Regions from separate parts of the Homo sapiens genome. Here regions 1, 2, 3, 4 and 5 are each linked to region 6. Evidence: promoter capture Hi-C in 16 types of primary human blood cells and fetal thymus (Javierre and others, 2016). All regions are on one chromosome and are shown on one strand. Each heading gives the region's core, a stretch centred on a gene start or on the middle of the fragment in contact. The rest is flanking DNA. Distances are from core to core; before and after follow the strand shown.

Evidence for each region. Contacts are between HindIII fragments. The CHiCAGO score rates a contact against its expected background, and 5 or more counts as called.
Region 1: a fragment that was not itself captured here is called in contact with the fragment with the promoter of WDFY1 in region 6 in 1 of 17 cell types (neutrophils); the score reaches 7.8 in neutrophils.
Region 2: a contact is called between a fragment that was not itself captured here and the fragment with the promoter of WDFY1 in region 6, in 1 of 17 cell types (M0 macrophages). The highest score is 5.2, in M0 macrophages.
Region 3: a contact is called between a fragment that was not itself captured here and the fragment with the promoter of WDFY1 in region 6, in 1 of 17 cell types (activated CD4 T cells). The highest score is 5.2, in activated CD4 T cells.
Region 4: a contact is called between a fragment that was not itself captured here and the fragment with the promoter of WDFY1 in region 6, in 1 of 17 cell types (neutrophils). The highest score is 5.1, in neutrophils.
Region 5: a fragment that was not itself captured here is called in contact with the fragment with the promoter of WDFY1 in region 6 in 3 of 17 cell types (total B cells, erythroblasts and fetal thymus); the score reaches 5.7 in total B cells.

The regions. Positions count from the first base shown.
Region 1 is chr2:224,560,243-224,563,970 of GRCh38, forward strand. The region is part of intron 1 of CUL3 (cullin 3); the gene reads right to left. Among named protein-coding and RNA genes, the nearest start is that of CUL3, 23 kb to the right of the region's middle. The HindIII fragment of the contact is 2,275 bases long and covers 609-2,883 here.
Region 2 is chr2:222,969,765-222,973,213 of GRCh38, forward strand. No RefSeq gene overlaps it. Among named protein-coding and RNA genes, the nearest start is that of ACSL3-AS1, 52 kb to the left of the region's middle. The HindIII fragment of the contact is 755 bases long and covers 1,265-2,019 here.
Region 3 is chr2:224,925,468-224,928,816 of GRCh38, forward strand. The region is part of intron 2 of DOCK10 (dedicator of cytokinesis 10); the gene reads right to left. Among named protein-coding and RNA genes, the nearest start is that of MIR4439, 83 kb to the right of the region's middle. The HindIII fragment of the contact is 1,364 bases long and covers 1,096-2,459 here.
Region 4 is chr2:224,534,764-224,538,368 of GRCh38, forward strand. It overlaps CUL3 (cullin 3), which reads right to left. Exons shown (of 16, transcript NM_003590.5): 3 at 765-878. Among named protein-coding and RNA genes, the nearest start is that of CUL3, 49 kb to the right of the region's middle. The HindIII fragment of the contact is 1,160 bases long and covers 819-1,978 here.
Region 5 is chr2:224,642,725-224,646,293 of GRCh38, forward strand. The region is part of intron 2 of LOC105373909 (a long non-coding RNA gene); the gene reads left to right. Among named protein-coding and RNA genes, the nearest start is that of CUL3, 59 kb to the left of the region's middle. The HindIII fragment of the contact is 160 bases long and covers 1,323-1,482 here.
Region 6 is chr2:223,943,834-223,947,068 of GRCh38, forward strand. WDFY1 (WD repeat and FYVE domain containing 1) reads right to left here and starts at 1,502. Exons shown (of 12, transcript NM_020830.5): 1 at 1,315-1,502. The coding sequence starts at 1,451. LOC124907989 (a long non-coding RNA gene) reads left to right here. Exons shown (of 2, transcript XR_007088100.1): 1 at 1-574. RefSeq lists enhancers at 314-433, 444-503 and a silencer at 1,074-1,253. The HindIII fragment of the contact is 5,306 bases long and covers 1-3,235 here.

The DNA of each region.
Region 1 (3,728 bases), core at 496-2,995, 620 kb after region 6:
CTAGCCACACTCAGTTTTTGTTTTTTGTTTTTTTTTAGTCACACTCATTTTCTAGGTGGAGTTGATCTATTCTCATGGTTTTAAATCAATCTTAAAATTGATACATTCTCTGGCCCCCTCTGTACATGCCAGAGTCATATATCCAGCTACCTACTCAATGTTTCCACTTTAATGCGTAGTAGGCATCTCAAACTTACCAAGCCTGAAACAGAACTCCTCATCTTTTCCCTCAGTTGGTTTCCCCTGAAGTCTTTTCCAGCTGAACAAATGTCCACTCCATCCTTCCAGCTGCTCCGGCCAAAATGCTTGTGATCATAATTAACTACTCTCTGACCCCACTACTACTCCAACAGAAAATGCTGTTGTCTCTAACTTCAAAATGTATCCCCAGAATTCAACTCTTTCTCACCACTTCCACTGCTACTATCCTGGTAAAACCACCACCACCTCCAACTGGTCTCCATCTCCACTCCTGGCCTGCTATCATCAGGCAACCAGGGTGACCATGTAAAAGCATAAATCAAATCATGTCACTCATTTGCTCACAACTCTCAAATGAGTTCTCATTTCCCCTGGAGTTGAAGTCAAAGTCCTTACAATGTTCTATAAGCTTTATTCGATCTGATAATCTCTCAACTTCATCCATTTTTTCCTTTTGTTCGCTCTGCTCCATGCACTCCCTGGCATACATCAAACAAGCTGATTTCAGTGTCTTCGTATTTGCTATTCTTTCTGTCTGAAATGTTCTTCCCTCAGTTTCCTGCATGGCTCAAACCTCTACTCAACTGTCATCTTACAGTGAAGTTTTAAATGCCCACCTTATTTACAGTAACAGCCTCACCTCACTACTGATCCCCAACTCCAACCCACATTCTTCATTATTTTCCTGGTCTCCCTCTCTACAACCAAATGTCAGCTTCATGAAGGCAGGGATCTTTTTTTCACTGCCAAATTCCTCAGCCTCTAAAACAGTATATGGCACATAACAAGGATTCATACTTCGGTGACTGATTTTCTGCTAATATATGACTAATGACCCCTTTGTAAATGCCACATAAAATCTCCAAGTTCTGCATTTACAACCTAAGCAACATTGATCAGCTTCACACAAACTTCTGATCTGAACTGGATAAAAATTACTGAGTTAGTGGAATCCTCTCCAAGTCACGTCTGATGTGTATGAATGTGAAAAGAGGAAGGAGTAGGCAAAATAGTTATTTTAGTCACCCTGGCAGTAAAATACCAGCTCAACTCTCAATCAAGACGATCCTTAAGCAAATGACTCAAACTGAATCTTGTTATTCTGATCTTTTCTGAAGAGCTTGAGAAGGAACTTTAACAGAACAATTTCTTTTCTTTTACCGAAATCCTATCCAAGACCTAAGTCTGTCAGAGACTTTTATCAAATGACTGTAAAAGAATTTACCCCTACACCTATACTGCTACCTCTTTTTAATCAGATATCCTGATAGGATGTCATCCATATAAAATGTACTGATGCGGCTAACTTTTCACAAACAGAAGATTCAAGGCCATGTAATAATGATGGCCTCAAATACCATAGCTACGTACGTGCAATGTGGTTTTAGTTTGTTGACTACATATGCTGAGGTTCTAATAAAGCAAACTAAGACACTATCTCTTGACATTGAGTAACAAATAGATAAAGCAAAATACTCAGAACAATTTCAAAAAAGAGAAAAGTTAATGTCAACTATAAGCCTCAAAGATACCTATACTGCTAATAGCTGAGCAAAACATCAAATCATCTTTACAGGCTCTATAACCTAAGATCCTCTGAAAGCCAGAAAAAGTATTAAAATGTCTCTACCCAGAGTAAATTACTAAATTTTTCTACTAGAAGCTGAAGAATTTTAAAACTATAAAACCAAGAGGCTTCAAACATTGTAAAAGTACTCTCACATTATTATAACATAACCATTTTCACATATATACATCAAGAGCTGTTTTACTACACAAGGTTGTATGTAGTGCGTTTTTTTTTTCTTTTTAAATTAATGCCTTATTGATAGATAAAAGATGGGGCTGCAGGAAAAAATGTTCCTTCTGGTGATAGCTAAGGTTAAAAATTTTTCTAACAAATGAGAAGAAGAGCCAGGCACAGTGGCTCCCGCCTGTAATCCCACCACTTTGGGAAGCCAAGGTGGACAGATCACTTGAGGTTGGGAGTTCGAGACCAGCCTAGCCAACATGGTGAAACCCCATCCCTACTAAAAATACAAAAAATAGCCGGATGTGGTGGTGCGTGCCTGTAATCCCAGCTACAGGGGAAGCTAAGGCAGGAAAATCGCTTGAACCCGGGAGGTAGAGGCTGAAGTAAGGCGAGATCGCGCCAGCCCACTCCAGCCTAGGCAACAGAGCAAGACTTTGTCTCAAAAAAAAAAAAAAAAAGACGACGACAATGAAAAATAGACCCAGAGAGATTAAATGACTTACCCAAAATCATAGAGCTGGGATTAGAACTTATATATCCCAAAACCTAGTCCAAATCAGTGGACTAATGTCACATTCCATTGTGCTAATATGGTAAAGTAACATCACAGTCACTGATTATCTTGGTAAACATAGTTAGTATACTGGTAGAGAACATGGGTTTTGCTGTCAGACAGCCTTAGGTTTGTGCCACAGCTTTGTTACTCACAAGCCATGTGACCTTGAGAAAATTAAGTCCTGGGTTCAATAACAGCATCTATCTCAAAGGGCTGTCATGAAGATTAAATGAGAACGTCAGTAGATTTAACACAGCCCAGAGCACAGTATAATCCCTCATGCATCAACAAAGGAAAGTGCCCAATGATAGAATCTCTTGAACGCTCATCGACAGTCATCAAATAAATGTCAGAAAGAAATATAGCTTTTTCAAGCTTAGCAAATATACAGATATGAGCTAAAACAAAGGCACCTTAAGAATAACACTATGATAAATGCACCTCAGTATAACGTAGCTTTCTTTTAGAAAACATTATTCCCCTACATCTCTTGTATACTACTTTTCCAGAGCCATTTAAATCATTTTCACCCTGAGAACTCTGTCCTTGGCTCTTGTCACTCTCTACTGGGTCTCTATGTATTTTCATTCATTGTCATGGTTACATCTATTATCCGTACATGCAGGGTTCTAAAACTTAAGAGGGATTCCAGAGGTTCCTAAAACAATAAACAAAACTTTCCAAGTATACTGTGTGTGCACTTCTTTTCTGGAGAGTAGGTCCCTAATTTCTATCAGATTTCCTAAGTTTGTCCATATCTTAAAGAAGATAAACTACAACAGTCCTCCTATCTACAGTTTCACCTTCCTTGGTTTAAGTTACTAGCAACCAACCACTGCCTGAAAATATTAAATAAAAAATTCCAGAAATATCAATTCATAAACTTTAAATTGCATGCCATTTTATGTAGTATGATGAAATCTCATGCCATCCCACTCAGGATGTGAATCCTGAATTACATCTTTGTCCAGCATTTCCACACTATGTTACACACCCCACACCCATTAAAAACTTGGTAACTTAACAGCCATCTGGTTTATCAGATCAAAATCACAATGCTTATGTCCAGGCAATGTTTATCTTACTTAATACTGTCCCCAAACCACAAAAGTAGTGATGCTGACAATTCAGAAATGCCAAAGAGAAGCAATAAAGTGCTTCCTTTAAGTGAAAAGGTGAAAGTTCTCTACTTAATAAGGAAAAAAAAAGGTATGCTGA
Region 2 (3,449 bases), core at 392-2,891, 970 kb before region 6:
TCTATTCTACTTCTCTTCTCCATTAATTTGCCTATTCTAGGTACCTCAGTGGAATAATGCAATATTTGTCCTTTTGTGTTTGGCTTATTTCGTTTAGCATACACACTTTGAAGGTTTATTCATGTTGTAGCTTACATCAGAATTTCATTCCTTTTTAAGGCCTAAAAATAATACATTTTCTGGGTGCTGTGGCTCATACCTATATTCCCAGTACTCTGGGAGGCCGAGGCAGGAGGATCACTTGAGCCCAAGAGTTTGAGATCAGCCTGGCAACATAGAGAGATCCCATCTCTACAAAAAAGTTTTGAAAATTAGCCAGGCATAGTGGTGTGTTCCTGTGGTCCCAGTTATTCGGGAGGCTGAGGCAGGAGGATCACTAGAGCCCGGGAAGTTGATGCTGCAGTGAGCCATGATTGTACCATTGCAGTCCCACCTGGGTGACAGAGCAAGACCCTGTCTCGAAAACAAGACAAAACAAAACAAAACATTGTATGTTTATCCCACATTTTGTATATTCATTAATCTGTCCATTGGTATTTGGGTTATTTCTACCTCTGGGTTATTGTGAATATGATGTTATGAACATTAGTGTACTAATATCTGTTGGAGTTTGTGCTTTCACTCTTAAGTATATATTCAGAAGTGAAATTACTGGATCGTATGGTAGTTTTATGTTTAACTTTTTGAGGAAACACCCAACTGTTTTTCACAGCATCAGCACACCATTTTACAGATCAGGAAAATGAGGTTCAGAGAGGTTAAACTACTAGCTCAGGATCGCATAGCTGGCCTCTAATGAGGATTATTAAATTTAGGTTTGTAAACAGCCTTCCATTTAGAGCTGGAATTCCCCTGTTCTATCCTATTTAATGAGCCATTCAAATCAAGATAGCTTTCTGTTGATGAGACTGGCTTTTCAAAAAGGCACAACTAGATTATAATCCAGAATGGGGAGGAAATAATGCTTTATTTTTTGTTTTGTGGCTGGATAGTGCATTCCATAAATGGGCTTTCAATCAATCTTTACTCTCTTCCCTTCCCTTTCTGATGCTAATTCATACATACTGGTCTAAAGTTTAAATTTACTTATGAGTCCACACTCTTTCTTCCATTTTCTTAACATATTACAAAAGCAAACAATCTCTTTGATCTTGGCTAAAATGATTCTAGAACTTTCTCACACCTCAGAAGTGCATGCTTCTTTCAAACAAACCATGTGCTGGTTACAAATCATGGCTCTTTGTCCACCGTCTTTCCCCAGGCAAGCTTGGGTGGCTGTAGTTAATATAGTTCGAGGGTCTTGAGGTAGTGGAATTGCTGTACGAACCCTTGGAGTGTAGAATTTTCACAATGAAGATGGATCTGGCCATTTTCCCCTCTTCAATCCCAAACACACAGGATGGAATCAGTGAGTTGACACTATGCATGGGTAGGCCGAGTAGGAGGGAAATTGTAAGGTGTGTGCAGTGGAATTTGGAGGGTCAGGTGGCCTTTCTTGTCCCAGACCTGCCTTCCCCACTAGGTGACTAGCGGCCTTTGTCTGCCCTCATTCTCCACCTCCTGCCTGTAGGTTGGCTGTTGGTCATTCGGGTCGGTATGACTGGACATTAGTGCTCCTCTCCCAGGAGTGTTTACATCTAAAACCTGAGTTCTGACAGTGGAATAAAAGGCATATTACAGAGGGCCCACCGGACTAGGGGGTGGTGTGCTGGCCTCACATGGTGCTGCTGAAATCATGCCTCCTAGGACAGCCCCTTTAGATACTGAAGACTCATCTTACCTGCTCAGTTTCCTGATTCAGAGAGTGAACTAGATGCTGCTGCTAAGGGAAAGACACTCTGGGAGAAGCCAAACCGCAAGGAGCCTTCAGTTCTCTCCTTACTGGGCCAGGAGGAGGAATTTTTTTTTTTTAACTGAAAAAGGGAATTACCAGCTTAAAACACAACCAAGAAGCCTTTAGCATTGAGGACTGGTGAGGAGAGGAGGTATTCATTTTGGTGTGGGGAGGAGACATCAGTAAGCTTTTCTTTCTCGTGTACACACACACACACACACACACACACACACACACGCTGGGACGTAAAAGACGTTTCAGTAGGTGTCATTCCCAAGCTGTCCACAAGATGGTGCAGAAACCCTGCTCACAGTCTGTCCTCCAAAGGCACCACCTCTGGAGTGATTTGCAGCCTCTGCAGGCTGCTGGTAAATTGAGGTTTGGAGAGCAGCATGAAGCTTTCACCGCGGTGAAGATACCTTTGACATTTTCGGGATTCTGATTGTAAATTCAATTAAAAATCGATTGGGTTCCAGTAAACAAAATGAAATGACAAATGTGTACAAAAGCTCCTTGTGCAGGGCTTAGCCTGGAAGAGAGATGGAGGTCATATAGGAAGGCGTGGAAGGAGACCTGGATAAGCTGCTGTGGGTGATACGACACCTCCTGTTCCTGGGGAATCTTGAAGTCTGCGGGGGGTTCAGCTGTGCATCGCTGGGCATTTACCGTGGATGGCACTCGTCTGCATGCTGTGGAGACAGTCATACGGAAGAGTCCCGGTCTTTAGAGAGCTTGAATCTGTCAAAAACTCATACCAGAAAAATAACGAGTGTGCCAGATGGTGGTCAGCACTACGGGAAAGATATTACAGCCGACCACTGGAGGTGCAGGGTTTCACTTTTAAATAGCGTGGCATCGGAGACCTCTTGGAGCCAGTGACATTTCAATAAGACCTGAAGGATTGATGGTGTGAGCCACGGGAGTTTTAGGGGAAGACCATTCTAGGCAGTGGGCACAGCAAAGGCAATGGTCCTGGGGTCGGGAGGTGCCTGGAGGAGGCATGGAGGACCCAGGAGGCTGATGTGGCTGCTGGGGCAGGTGAAGGGGCAGGGCAGGATATGAGTCAGAGAGATTCTAATGGGGGAAAAGCCGGAGATTTCGAAGCTGAGTGATCACACGAGACCTTGCAGCACAGTATAAGGACTTTCGACTTTACTTTGGAAATTGCTGGAAGCCATTGAGCGTTCTGAATAGAGGCGTGGCATGATCTGCCTTGCATTTTGTAAGGATCACTCCGGCTCTTGCATTGAGAAGGTCCTACAGGCAGGAGCCGAAAGACCAGTTAGGAGACAGCTGCCATGTCTGGGTGAGAGATGGTGGTGACCAGGCCCAAAGGGAATGACAGTGGAAGTGAAGAGAAGTGGTCAGATTTAGGATATCTTTGGAGCCAGTAGAGTTGATGGTAGATTGAATGAAAATTTGAGAGGCAGAGAGGGGTCACGGATGACTTTGAGGTTATTTCCCTGAGCAATTGGGCAGATGGAATGGCAATTAACTGAGATAATTTGGAAGGGCAGGTTTTTGGGGGAAAGATCAGGAACTCAGTTTGGGATATGCTGAGTGCGGGATGCCTTTCAGATGTCCAAATGGAGATGTTCAGATCTATGAAACTAGA
Region 3 (3,349 bases), core at 528-3,027, 980 kb after region 6:
AATGAGACTCTTAGGTGACTGTAGTCATGTGACATAGACTTTTGACTTTGAAAATTGCACTGCCCGGTGTTGAAAGTCTAACTGTTCAAGTGTAAGGTCTGCTTCTTATTCGTATTGGTGTCCTGGATATAAACAGCTTAGATCACCAAAGGTGGTCCATGAAGGTAAATTGAAATAGAGTTTTACTGGTGTGGACAAAATTGAAGTATAGTTGATAGGTGGTCTTCCTACACAGTGTACAGTCTTACCAGCTTTCAGACATCAGAACTTTCTTATTTATGGTTTTGTACTTCCCAGAAATGATCCCATCTCAGGCTTTCTACATCTTTTGCTCAGGAAGAAACTCATTTCTGACTTTCTCAACTTTTTTTCTGCTATTTTGCATCAGTCTTTTCTTAAACTGAATCATTTGACAATATGATTCAATGTGTCCTTGAAACCATTTTTCTTAGCCCTTGCTTTCTTTTCTTACTTTCTTTGCCACTTTACTGAGTCACACACTTTGGTGACTAAGTTCTTTATTTTTTGTTTTGTTTTAAAGTTTCTATTACTACCAGCTTGAAAAAGAAAGATGAAAAAAAGTAGCAAATACAATTATTGAAGCAGTACAAGTTTTTGCAATGAATGGCTTAATAAATACATCAATACTGCTTATTTTAGTGAATCATTAGGACACATGTAGTGCAGGAGTTCATACTGCTTAGTCCCAGAACCCACATACAAGGAGGACTAGCTTCTACCTGGTGTGCCAAAATAAAGGAAAGTGCTTCTGTGTCAGGCCCTCAACCTGGAAGAAAACTATTTTAATTCAATGTTTGATAATCTATTGAATGCCTATGAATCAGACATTGTGTTGGGTACTTGAAGTACAGATATGAACTGATTTGTCCCTTGTCTAGTAACAGAAAGGAAGTGAATGAGTAAGTGAAGAAGTACACTAAAGTGTTAGAGGGCTGGGTGCAGTGGCTCACGCCTGTAATCCCAGCACTTTGAGAGGCCAAGTTTGAGGCTGCAGTGACTTCCCACTACACTCCAGCCTGGATAACAGAGCGAGACTCCATCTCTTTAAAAAAAAGTGTTAAAAGGAGGAAACTAAGCTTTGCTGATATCAGCTATGAGCCAGGCACTATGTTAGAAGGAATGGGCCTCTTTAAAAAGGGAAACGTGTTCTTAGTGCTGTTTTTTAAGGTGATATGTTGAGTTGAGTTGTGCCAAAGCAGGAAGTATTTTCCTTACCATCAAGCAAAGCCAATTACTTCATCCTCTTTGTTCTCAAGAATTTTGTTTCAGAAAAGCCTTTTGGTTCCTCAAGGTACTCAAGGGATCAACATTATGTTATAAAATAGCAATCTAGATGTTTCTGAAAGATAATTCATGAAATAAATATTTATTTTCCATCTGCTTTGTGCCAAGTTCTGCTTTAGCTGCTGAAAATCTTTCAACAATCAAGACAGAAGAAGTCTCTGTCCTGCTAGAGGCTACTGTCTAACAGTGAGAAACAAGTGACAGAGGAGTGAAAAAGCAAACCAAGATATTTCCCAGTGGTGATAAGTGTTATCAAGAGAAGCAGGTGGGGTCATGTTATAAAGTAACTGGGTGTGAGGGCAATGTAGCTTGGAAGTCAGGGATGCTTCTTTGTAGAGGTGACATTTAAACTGAGTTGTGACTGAAAAATAGGAACCAGCTATACAGAGAGTGTAAAGGCCCTACCGAGAGGATGAGCTTGGCAAGTTGGGGGAACAGAAAGAATGCTTGATGTCTGTGCAGTGACTGAGGAAAGTAGGCTAGATGAGAGCTCAGAGAACATGGGGAACCAGATGACAGGGGTTATGGGAGGAGCTGGATTTGACTCTTAAGGCAATGGGAAGCCACTGAGAAGTTTTAACCAGAGGCATGGCGTTATCTAATTTGTGTTCCTAACAGCTTCCATTGAGTACTGTGTGTGAACGAATCAAAGCGGAGCAAAGAAGAAAGCAGGAGGACCAGTTACAAAACCACTTCTTGGAGGGGAGGTATGGTCCAGGCAAATGAGGGTATTTGTGGCTTGGGACAGCAGAGTGAATAGAGAAAAACTTTTAATATATACAGTCACAATATAAGAATACTGCCTTGGTGAAAAGTAATCTTTCTCGTGTACCAGATACCAGACGAAGTCTCTGATTCTCGGTATTTCTTAACCATAAGCATTCTAAATCAACTTGCTTTTTCATCCATAAAAGGGCATGAGCTCCTTAAACACAGGGCTTTTGCTTTTCTTGTCAGTCTCACTAGTCTAGGAAGTGCTGTTCTATATTCAGCAGCTCGTGGGTGCTGAATAAATATTGATTAAACAAACCGAGTAATGAATCATGTGTGCTGCAAGTGTGGGTGCTTGGTAACGTGGAAACATACAAGTGAGCTGGATTCTCCAATCTGCAGGGCAGAAACTGGATGAAAGACATTTAGAGGTGGGGGTGGGAAGCTTGGAGCGGCCCCTCTCCTTCCATCCCTCAATGCCTTGGGATTGGGGTGGTCATTCTATGACCACTTCACATTGACTCCGTGGAGATTGACTCCACACACCCCAGAGGAGCCTCACCCACTGCTGAAGGGAGAGCTGATGAAATGACATGCTTGCTGACTGCATGGACACTTCCTGTTGGTGCGCCACGTCCCTAAAATGTGACATAGGCTGTGGGTGAAGCAGGTAACATCAGAGATTTACAGACACGCCTATATTCCACAAAGAGTGTGAGGATAAAAACCAAAAATGCATGCAGTTGTACTCTATGTCAGCCAACTTTTTCTGTAAAGCGTCAAAGAATAAATCTTTTCCGGCTGAATGTCTCTGTTGCTTCTACTGCAACTCTGTTGCAACCCTGCCTTTACATCATGAAAGCAGCCACTGACAAGAGGTCAAGGAATGGTGTCCGTGTTCAATAAAACTTTCTTTATGGGTATCAGAATTTGAATTTCAGATAATTTTAATGTGTTTTGAAATATCATCTTTTTTTCCCTAAGCTATTTTAACAACCATAAAAACCATTCTTAGCTCATGGGACATAAAAAATAGGCAGCAGGTCACCCATGGGCGACAGTTTGCCAAGCTGTACTCTGTAGAGCAGTTAAAATGAGGAACAATCTCCACTATTATTCAAAAATAGGCAATTTTATGTAGAGATAATATCTAACACTATCCTTTTGTTTGTCAGTTGCTTAATGCAAATTAAAATTTAGCCATTTGGAGGATGTGACATTTGCTGATAGTAAGGATTAGGTAGCATTGAAAATCTCTTGGGCAGAGATTAATTGGAAATGATTCTTTGGATCACACTCCCCACTTTGTCTAGGCCTTGTTTTGTGTTTTCCA
Region 4 (3,605 bases), core at 149-2,648, 590 kb after region 6:
CCAGGTCAGGAGATAGAGACCATCCTGGCTAATGTGGTGAAACCCCGTCTCTACTAAAAAGAAAAATAAAATAAAAATAAAAATAAAAATAGCCGGGCGTGGTGACGGGCACCTGTAGTCCCAGCTCATCAGGAGGCTAAGGCAGGAGAATGGCGTGAACCCGGGAGGCAGAGCTTGCAGTGAGCCGAGATCATGCCACTGCACTCCAGCCTGGGGAACAGAGCGAGACCCCGTCTCAAAATAAATAAATAAATAAATAAATAAATAAATAAATAAATAAATAAATAAATAAATAAAGATTTTTATTCACATAGGCTTCGGTTGGCCCTTACAAAGAAAGTACTGTTCATTTAAAAAACAAAAACCACCTTCCACACTGAGACGTACTATAACTAAGTTAGACAGAAAGTCATTGTGTTTTGAAATGTTTAATTTCTTTTTGAGACGGAGTTTCACTCTGTTGCCCAAGTGAGAGTGCAGTGGCACGATCTTGGCTCACCCCCCGGTTCAAGCGATTCTCCTGCCTCAGCCTCCCAAGTAGCTGGGATTACAGGTGCCCACCACTGCACCTAATTTTTGTATTTTTAGTAGAGACAGGGTTTTGCCACGCTGGCCAGGCTGGTCTCAATGTCCTGACCTTAAATGATATGCCCACCTTGGCCTCCCAAAGTGCTGGGATTACAGGCGTGAGCCACCGTGCCCAGCCTTCAACTTCAAATGCTTAACTGCTTAAAGGAAGAAAACATTTAAAAAGCTCTACTTACCATGTACATTAGTATGTCTCTAATCATCACCATAGCTGTTTGATGATCATTCCAAGCTTGATTTAGCGTTTGAAGAAAGTTGTTATTCAATGAATTTAGTACATCTTCTCGCACCTAGTAACAGAAGAGTTCATTAGTTTGCACACACACATCCACACACTCGTATATACAGGCATGCACATATCTGTTTAATAAAATAATGAAGTGGAATCTTTAATTTAAATCAAAGAAATGTTATAGGCTAGTAGAAATATTTTAAGCTATAACCTATACACAGAAGAGTATCAAATGTATATGTATAGTACAGACTCCTCTTCTGATCTCCAGAACATAAATCAACTTCCTAGGTATTTCCCAACCCTCCAGTGACTTGACATCATTGTCAGAGTAAAATCCTATATTCTTATAGTAAGTTACAAGGGCCTGTAAGACTGGCTTCATGCTACTGCTGAATTTCCTACTACACCTTCCCTTCCCCAACTTTGAATAATGGTTGAGAATACTGATTTTGGAGTCAATTACCTGGGCTCCAATCCCAGCTCCCTAACAAACTGGGTGACCTGGGATAAATATTTAACCTCTGTGCCTCAGTTTCCTTATATGTGAAATAGCATTCTTCTTGTAGGATTGTTTTAAGAACTGAATTAACGCTAGCAATACACTTAAAACAGTGCTTAGTACTCCGTAAACACTCTATAATAAACTACTCAGTACACTTCAGCTACAATGGCCTCTTTACTAAATACAGCAACTGTGCTCTGCCATTCCTTCTGCCTCAATTCACATGGCTCGTCCCACTCACTTTATTTTGCTCAAATTTCATCTCTGGAGAAGTCTTTCCCAACCAATTACTTCAAAGAAAGCCTAGCTCTACTTCTTCACCATACAATTTGTTTTTTGTCATAGCATTCATCATTACCTACTATATTAGTTTATTTGTTTATTGTTTCTTCCACTAAAATGTAAATGTCTCCATGGTGGCAGGATTTCTATCTTTTCCATGTGTATATCCCACACCTAGAATAGTGCTTGGTATATATAACACCATTTATTTCATATCCCTGCCCTCCAATGCCATGATTCACCTCCAACATAAGCACTTTCAGGATTACCTGCTTTTGCACATAAAGTTCCCTTGAGCCTGAAATGTCTTTCCAATCCAACCCTAATAAAAGACTATTCAAGACTTCAAAAATTCCTTTCCACAGTCCACAAGCTTAGTACCATCCTCTCTGATAAAATGTTATTGACCACTACTCTTTCCTGCTATGCTATCTGCCCAAAAGAAAGACCATTTCACTCAGAAACAGAATCTAGACTCTGGTTCTTGTTTTATCACAAAGTCGTCGTGTGTTTGTCTCCAAGTTCCTGTAACACTTTGGGACTATACTGCCAACTTCTACAGTTATTCAAATCCAACCAACCTTCCATAATCCAGCTAAACTCTCAATAACTCTACACTAAACAAAACTTTTTTATCTCCAAATATCCTTTACCATAGAGAATTTCTAATAGTGGTTATGCTTTTTCAGATTGGGAAAAAGCTGAAGTCATGGTGCTTTCTGAGAAACATCAACTATTTAATGTATGTTGAGATATATAGACACCTCTAAAACAATTATAAATACACATAAATAAAATGCCATTCTGTATCAGATCTAATATGAACAAGTGGCTAAAAGTGCCAAAGAAAATACACACAACACACTGTGGAAGAATAAATTCAAACTAAGAAAACAGAATCTTTTCCTACATATTGGGGAAAACGAGGTTATTAGATTTAATGATGAGACAATATATCTAGTCTACTAAATATACAGTATAAAAATCACTAGGCCTGTACCACATAATTTAGAATTTTATCATATATTTAATCTTTTGTTCACAAGACTAAGCTCCATGACTTCAAGTTACATCACCCAGAAATTCCTCCAAAAATGTTAACTATATCAAGTTAGTTAATGGAAATACTTATACAAAATGAATAATGTATCATTTGTTTCAACTCATTAAATCTAGCACTTGTCAGATACAAATCCCAACAAAAACCCAGCAAGCTGAAAACGTGCTTATTTTCAAAATTTTACACCAAGCTTCATATTCCTTTACTGAAGAGTAGCAATTAAATTAAAATCATGACAATGCAAGAGCAATCTACGCTACATACAAAAAAAATACGTATTTCAAACATCAGAATATCAAGCCCATTAATTATTCTTAAGGACTTATATGAACTTCTACATACCGCTATATTATAAAATTAAGTTAAATGTTAACTACATTAAAATCACCCTGAATTTGGAACACGTAAATGTGCCTGCATATTTGTTGAATGAATAAAAAATTGACCAATTAAATAAAAAGTTAATGTTACAAAATAAGGCATGTTCTTTCAAATCACTGATTTGTACATTTTATAAAAAAATATATCAAGTATTTACATATTTGTCATCATATTTATACCTGCCTTTCAGCAAAATAAAACGTGATCTCCTAGTACAATGTGTCATAATTGCCTTGTTTGCATCATACCTCAAAAAATTATCCTGACCAATAACGGTGAATTTTACTAGCAGAAAATAGCTACAATTAAGAGCTAATTTTGTTTATTTTTCAATTATGCATACACACACACACAAACTCATGACTGAAAGAAGTAAAATGAATGCCTTAGATACACTGCTGCAATGTCTTCTTATTCAGATTACTCTATGAACAAAAAATTTTTCCTCCAACATTTCTGTAGAAAATTAGTTGAAAGTGAACAGATTATTTATTCAAACATACACAATAAAATGGTAGGAATGAGATGAAGATTATGAAGATTAAAATAGGCTTTTA
Region 5 (3,569 bases), core at 153-2,652, 700 kb after region 6:
AAACGAGAGCATTTGTGGAGTAAAGATGAAGAAGGAAATTGGGTCTTCTAGGACATGGCAAGAAATTTGAACTTTATTGTAAATGTGACAGGAGGGTTTTGAACATTGGAACCATGTGATTTGATTTATATTTTACAGGGAGTATTCATTTGGCTGTTTGAAAAGGAGACTGGAGAGGTTAAGGTGGCAAGGGAGCATGCAAAAGAATGAGTGAGAGGGCTAATGCGATACTCCTGGTGAGAGGTGACTGTGGTTTGGCCAATGCTTCTAGCAGCTGAGCTGGAGAGAAGAGGATGGATTTGGGATAAATTTTGGAGAGGAGCTGATAGGATCTATCAGATGGATAAAACACAGGAGTGAAAGAACAGAAGGAATAAAGGATGACTTCAGGCTTTTGGCTGAGCATTTGTTGATGGGAAATCCAGGGCGCTCTTAATGTTCCATTGTGTGTTTTAAAAGGGAGCAGTGTCTTGTATTGTACAAGATGCACTCAGTCCTGTATATGCTATTATCAGTGAGAAACAAGACTGGGCTATAGATTTGTTGGTATTAGAGAAGAGAGGTTGATTACTTCTTGAATCCTCTAGGATTTTTCCTTTATGGATACATGTGTTGGACTACTTTGTAAGTTTTGCTTCAATTATCCTCCAACTGTCCCATTTTCCTACTCTACTCGTGGCTCCCACTTCTGCTTCTTCTGCACCTCAGTAGAACAGGAGCAGCCTCCCAGGGCATGGCAAGTTCATTTGGCTTGGCATGGGCCCTGGACAATGGGTCTTGCCTTCAGGTGGTGTGACTTCTTGGCTTGGTGAATAGAAAATGCCATCCTAGGCCGGGCGTGGTGGCTGACACCAGTAATTCCAGCGCTTTGGGAGGCCGAGGCTGTCGGATCACCTGAGGTTAGGAGTTCGAGACCAGCCTGGCCAACATGGTGAAACACCATCTCTACTAAAAATACAAAGATTAGCCAGGCATGGTGGTGCACATCTGTAATCTCAGCTACTCGGGAGGCTGAGGCACGAGAATCACTTGAACCCTGGAAGCAGAGGTTGCAGTGAGCCAAGATGGCACTACTGCACTGCAGCCTGGGCGACAGCAAGATTCTGTCTCAAAAAACAAACAAACAAAAAATGCCATCCTGGCTGCCTGTGCTGATCCTGAACAAGGTTTGGGGGCTAGAGCAGAGCAGACCCCTACGCATGTCTCCTTTGGTTTAGGGTCTTTGGGGAAGGGATGCTGCAGCCATTGGTGATTGGTGGTACCGAAACCCCAGCCTAGCGGCTTTGGGCTGACTCTGTGGGAAGCTGGTGTCAACTGTAAAAAGCTTCTCATCTGCAGTGCTTTGACAAGTACTTTCAGGAGAGTTTCTTAATTCTCTGAGCTCTAATTCCCTCATCTGAAAGGCAGAGTAGTAATAATTATGGCTTCTTAGAGTTTTTATGAGAATTGACTTAATTTCAGAGGCAGTAAACAGCCCAGGTAAGCTTGGCTTCGAGTGTGGAGTCAGGCCTTTCAATTCCTTTCCATCTGGAATTTTGGGTGGTGGGACATGGGAACAAGTTTCTTACCCTCTCTGTGCCTCAGTTTCCTTATTCCCAATAAGAGAATAATAATGGTACCTTCTTGTTATGGTTGCTGTGAGAATTGGATGAAATATTTTATGGGAAATGCTTTAAACTGTGACTGGTATTTGATTATAGCACTTAAAAAATACCTGTTGAGGCCGGGCGCAGTGGCTTACGCCTGTAATCCCAGCACTTTGGGAGGCTGAGGCGGGCAGATCATGAGGTCAGGAGATCAAGACAATCCCGGCTAACACGGTGCAACCCCATCTCTACTAACAATACCAAAAAAAAAAAAAAAAAAATTTAGCCAGGCTTGGTGGCAGGCGCCTGTAGTCCCAGCTACTTGGGAGGCTGAGGCAGGAGAATGGTGTGAACCCAGGAGGTGGAGTTTGCAGTGAGCCAAGTACACGCCACTGCACTCCAGCTTGGGTGACAGAGCGAGACTCCATCTCAAAAAAAAAAAAAAGCTGTTGATAAAAGAGGCCCTTGATGAATGTCTATTATTTAAATAATTACGTCCATGAAAAGTACTTTAACAGCATTAAAAAGTTAGTTATTGTGGGGCTGGGCGTGGTGGCTCACAGCTGTAATCCCAGCACCTTGGGAGGCGGAGGCAGGCAGATCACAAGGTCAGGAGTTCGAGACCATCCTGGCCAACATGATGAAACCCCTTCTCTACTAAAAATACAAAAATTACCCGGGCGTGGTGGCGCACGCCTGTAGTCCCAGCTACTTGGGAGGCTGAGGCACAATAATCACTTGAACCCGGGACGCGGAGGTTGCAGTGAGCAAAGATCGCGCCACTACACTCCAGTCTGGTGACAGAGCGAGTGAGATTCAGTCTAAAAGAAAAAAAAGTTATTGTGTTAAATTTTATTACATCCTCCATTATCCTTGCTGATTTTGTGTTCCAGAAATAATTACAACATTATCACACAAATCTAATCTCTGGGATCTAAATGAGAGGATCACACACTCAGATGGCTACAGGGGCGAGACAGGTCACACAAATAAATGAGGGTGCAAGCTCTGCGATGAAGGGTCCACAATCAGAATCAGATCTGTTAAAATAGGCTATGGCCAACTATTTCAATACCAGCAGTATCACTTGCAGATTCTTTCAGAGAAGCTGGAAATCTGAAATTTTTATTAATAGATGAGATTTCTGGGTTTATTAATGTTAGCAGTTTAACCAAAGAGTTTAGAAACACCTTGTTGGCTAAAGAAATGTATGTTTCAGGGGAGTGGCCTTGACCCACAGACCACCAGTTTAGAAATGCTGATCTAGACTACTGCAGATTAGTTTGTGAGACCAGCCAGAAATAGGATCCAGAAAGGTCAATATACATGGGAGAATGGTTAGAGCACCAGGAACCACTGGAGTGACAGGCTCAGGTGGGTGGATCCTCAGAAGCTGCTCTGGGGCAGGAGAAAGACTGGACTTGGGAGCAAGAAGGATGCTGAAAAGATGAAGCCCGTGACCGAAGGTGACCTGGGCATACTTGACAAGCTAATCTAGGGCTGGCCCCAATGCCACAGATATCTGTATTTTGAATACAGGTTGTTTTTACTTCCTTGGCAATCAGGTTACACAGAGGCAGTATTGTTCAATTCCTATGGCTTCCCGGGACCTGAATTGCACCTGCTGTGCATAACGATGGCATCATCCATAATTAGGCAATGACTTGCTTTTGTCTTGAGGCTTCTATGGGCCTTACCTGATGCAGGCATTCTGGAGGGAGTGTAAGTGGAAAGACTCTAGCAGAGTCAGGTAATATAATTCAGCACACTAAAGTGAACTATGGAACAGGTGCACATACAATGCAATAGCTCAGTTTCACTTTTAATGACTTGCATTATCACACAGCTATTTGGTTATCGTTTTCATAACTCAACAATCTCAAATTAAGACTTTACTATACTTATATAATGGTCTTCTATCCATGGGCAGAGACAAGCAAGGTACAAAATCAGGGGGGAAAATGAAGGCTAAATATGTATTAC
Region 6 (3,235 bases), core at 252-2,751:
GCAGCAAGCTACACCTCCACCAGCCTCGGCTTCCTCTTAGGAGAAATGAGAAAACTGGACCCAATCAGTGTTTCCCAAAAGCATGGTGGGCGTCCAATGCAAGATGTCACAGTGCAAGAGAGGACTCTGTGTGCATGCCAATTAACATGTTTTAGTTATTAGTTTACTCTGTCTGGTGAGTAATGTTAGTTTTCCTAATAAATAAGATTTCCTTTTAAAATAAATGCATCCAAATATTTTTAAAAATGAGTCACTTTCACAAAAACCTATTTAGTAAATAAGAGTTCAGGTGATTCTAGCAGCCGTGGCAAAAATAACTGATCTAGAGGCCTGGCGTGGCGTGAAATCCCTGAGTACAGGGGGAGGAAGAGAGCGAAGGCGGCTGGAGTTCCTCGCAAAGAAGCAAGCCCCGGGCACCAGGGTCCGCAGTGACCAGCCGCCGGTCCTCCACGCTTCCAGAGGAGACGATTTGGAACTGACCCGGGAGGGCCAAGAAACACCTTCCGAGTACCAGGCTAAACCCCGCCAGGGAGAGAGACCGGGACGAAGGTCCCAGGCTAGTGCGACACCGCAGGTCGGGGTTCCCTGGTTGGAGGAGCGCGGTGGGCTGGGAGGGGCGCGTTGGTGCGCACTGGAACAGGGGTCCCCGGCTTGAGCAGCGCGGTGAGACAGAGTTCCCGCGCTGGAGGGGCGCGGTGAGACAGAGGTCCTGGGCTGGAGAGGTGCGTTGGGGCGCACTGGAACCGGGGTCCCGGGCTTGAGTGGCGCGGTGGGACAGAGTTCCCGGGCTGGAGGGGCGCAGTGGGACAGAAGATCCGGGCTAGAGGGGCGCGGTGGGACGGAGCTCCCGGGATGGACGGGCGCAGTGGGACAAGGGTCCCGGACTGGAGGGGCGCGTTGGGGAGCATTGGAACAGGGGTCCTGAGCAGGAGGGGCGAGGTGGGCTGGGAGGGGCGCGGTAGGGCGCACTGGAACAGGGGTCCTGGGCTGGAAAGACACGTTGGAACAAGGGTCCCGGGCTTGGGCGGCGCGGTGAGACGGAGTTCCCGGGCTGGAGGGGCGCGGTGGGACAGGGGATCCGGGCTGGAGGGGCGCGGCGAGACCGGGGTCCCAGGCTGGAAAGGTGCAAGTCGAGGCTGGAGGACCGGCGGGAGGGAACCGGGAACCCGGCGGAGCTAAGGGGCGCAGAGTGGGGGTGGGGCCGTGCTGCCGGGGGAGCCCCCTCACGCAGGAAGGACCGGGGCCGCGGACCCCACCGCCCCCACACCCCGTCGTCGCGGAGTTCGGGCCGCCCCGGCTGCGCCCGGGCCCTACCTGTCCTCGCTGGCCGTGATCACGCCGTCCTCCTTGGGGATGAGCAGCGCGGCCGTGACGGCGTCCTGGTGCCCCTCGATCTTGCTCAGCAGCACCGGGCGGCTGCTCTGCGGCCTGGAGTGGATTTCGGCCGCCATGTTCGCGCGGCGACTGCTGCGGCCTCCTCGGCAGGCAGCCCATCAGCTGACGCCTGGGCGGGCGGGGGACGCGCCGGTTTCCCTTCGGCTGCTGGGGCCTCTTGGGCGCCGCGCCGCCGTAAGCCCCCGAGTGCTGCCGCCGCACCGCCCGTATTGCCTGGGGATGCCGCGCAAGCTGAAAGTCTGTGGCTGGGAGAGGATGCCACGGGGCGCCTGCGGAGAAATGGGGAAAGTAAGGAAGGTTTAAAAGTAAAGCCATTCACCCAGGAATAAATTGAGCACCTGGAGGGGACAAGGAATTGTCCCCCAAACCAGAGATTTCAGAAATTACAATACTACATTTCATCCATTTGAAGAAGCCATTGTTTGAAAGGCACACACTTTCAGAAATGTTAAAATGTGAAAAAATATAGTGCATCTTAGAATCTTTGAACTACAATAGATAGCACTGAGTGGTGACCATATACCAGGCATTAACTCAGTGTCTTTGCATCTCATTTAATACTGATAATTTTAAGAGATGAAATAGATGCTCTTGTATTCCCATTTTAGAGATGAGAAAACAACCAGAGAAGTTTGATCACTACCTTAAGGTTGCACAGCTATGAGAGGGAGAAAAGCAGCCCTTGATCTCCAGGAGCTGCCTGGTACTATCAGCTGAGCTTTGGTGTTGCTAGGAAGTGTTTGCTTCCTGTGGAACATAAACATCAGACGAGGCCACTCCATAATCACATCTAAACACGGCCAAAATATGAGCGATGTACAAGCCACAGAAATTACCAAACATCCCCCTATCCTGGCTAATATGAGTGACTCTTATTTCTTTATTAATTATAATGTTAACCGCTATCTAGTCTTCCTCCATTTAGATAAGATTTATTAAGATATGCAACCTTAGAATTATACGCATTTCCTGACAACATCCAGTCCACAGGAGAGCCTCTCTTCCTTAAGCTCTCCCAGGTCACCTAACACAAACACAAATCCTATAATAAAACTGTCCGAACATCCCTTTACCCAGACACCTCACCATTCCCAATGGTGTGTCTTCTCCCTCCAACAAGCAATCAACCCCATTTGTTCCTGGTGGTTTTTGGCTAGAGGTCATTGACAACCAGTAAGTTCAAGAGCCAAAATTTGGACTCAGGAAGTCAATGACTCCAAACTTCTGCCCCACTATATTATTCTGACACCTGAATTGCAGAATTGCATTAGAACCGTACTATCCACATGACTATAGAGCACTTGAAATGTGGCTTGTCCAAACTGAGATGTAGTACAAGTGCAAAATACTACAAGATTTTATAGACTTAGCACAAAACAAAAAAGATGTAATATAGTTCATCAATAATTGTTACAATGATTACATGTTGAAATGATACTATTTTGGATATATTGAGTTAGATACTATTAAAATTAATATGACCTGCTTATTTTTTTAAGGTAGCTAATAAAAACTTTAAATTATGGATGTGAATCAGATGGTACTTCTATGTACAGTGATTTACTAGAACTTTCTTTTTGTTTTTGTTTTGTTTTGTTTTAGTTTTTTGAGACGAACTCACTCCGTCACCCAGGCTGGAGTGCAGTGGTGCGATCTCGGTTTACGGCAACCTCCGCCTCCCAGGTTAAAGGGATTCACCTGTCTCAGCTTCCCGAGTAGCTGGGATTACAAGCACCTACCACCATGCCTGGCTAATTTTGTATTTTTACTAGAGACAGGGTTTCACCATGTTGACCAGGCTGGTCTCAAACTTCTGCCCTCAAATCATCTGCCCACCTCA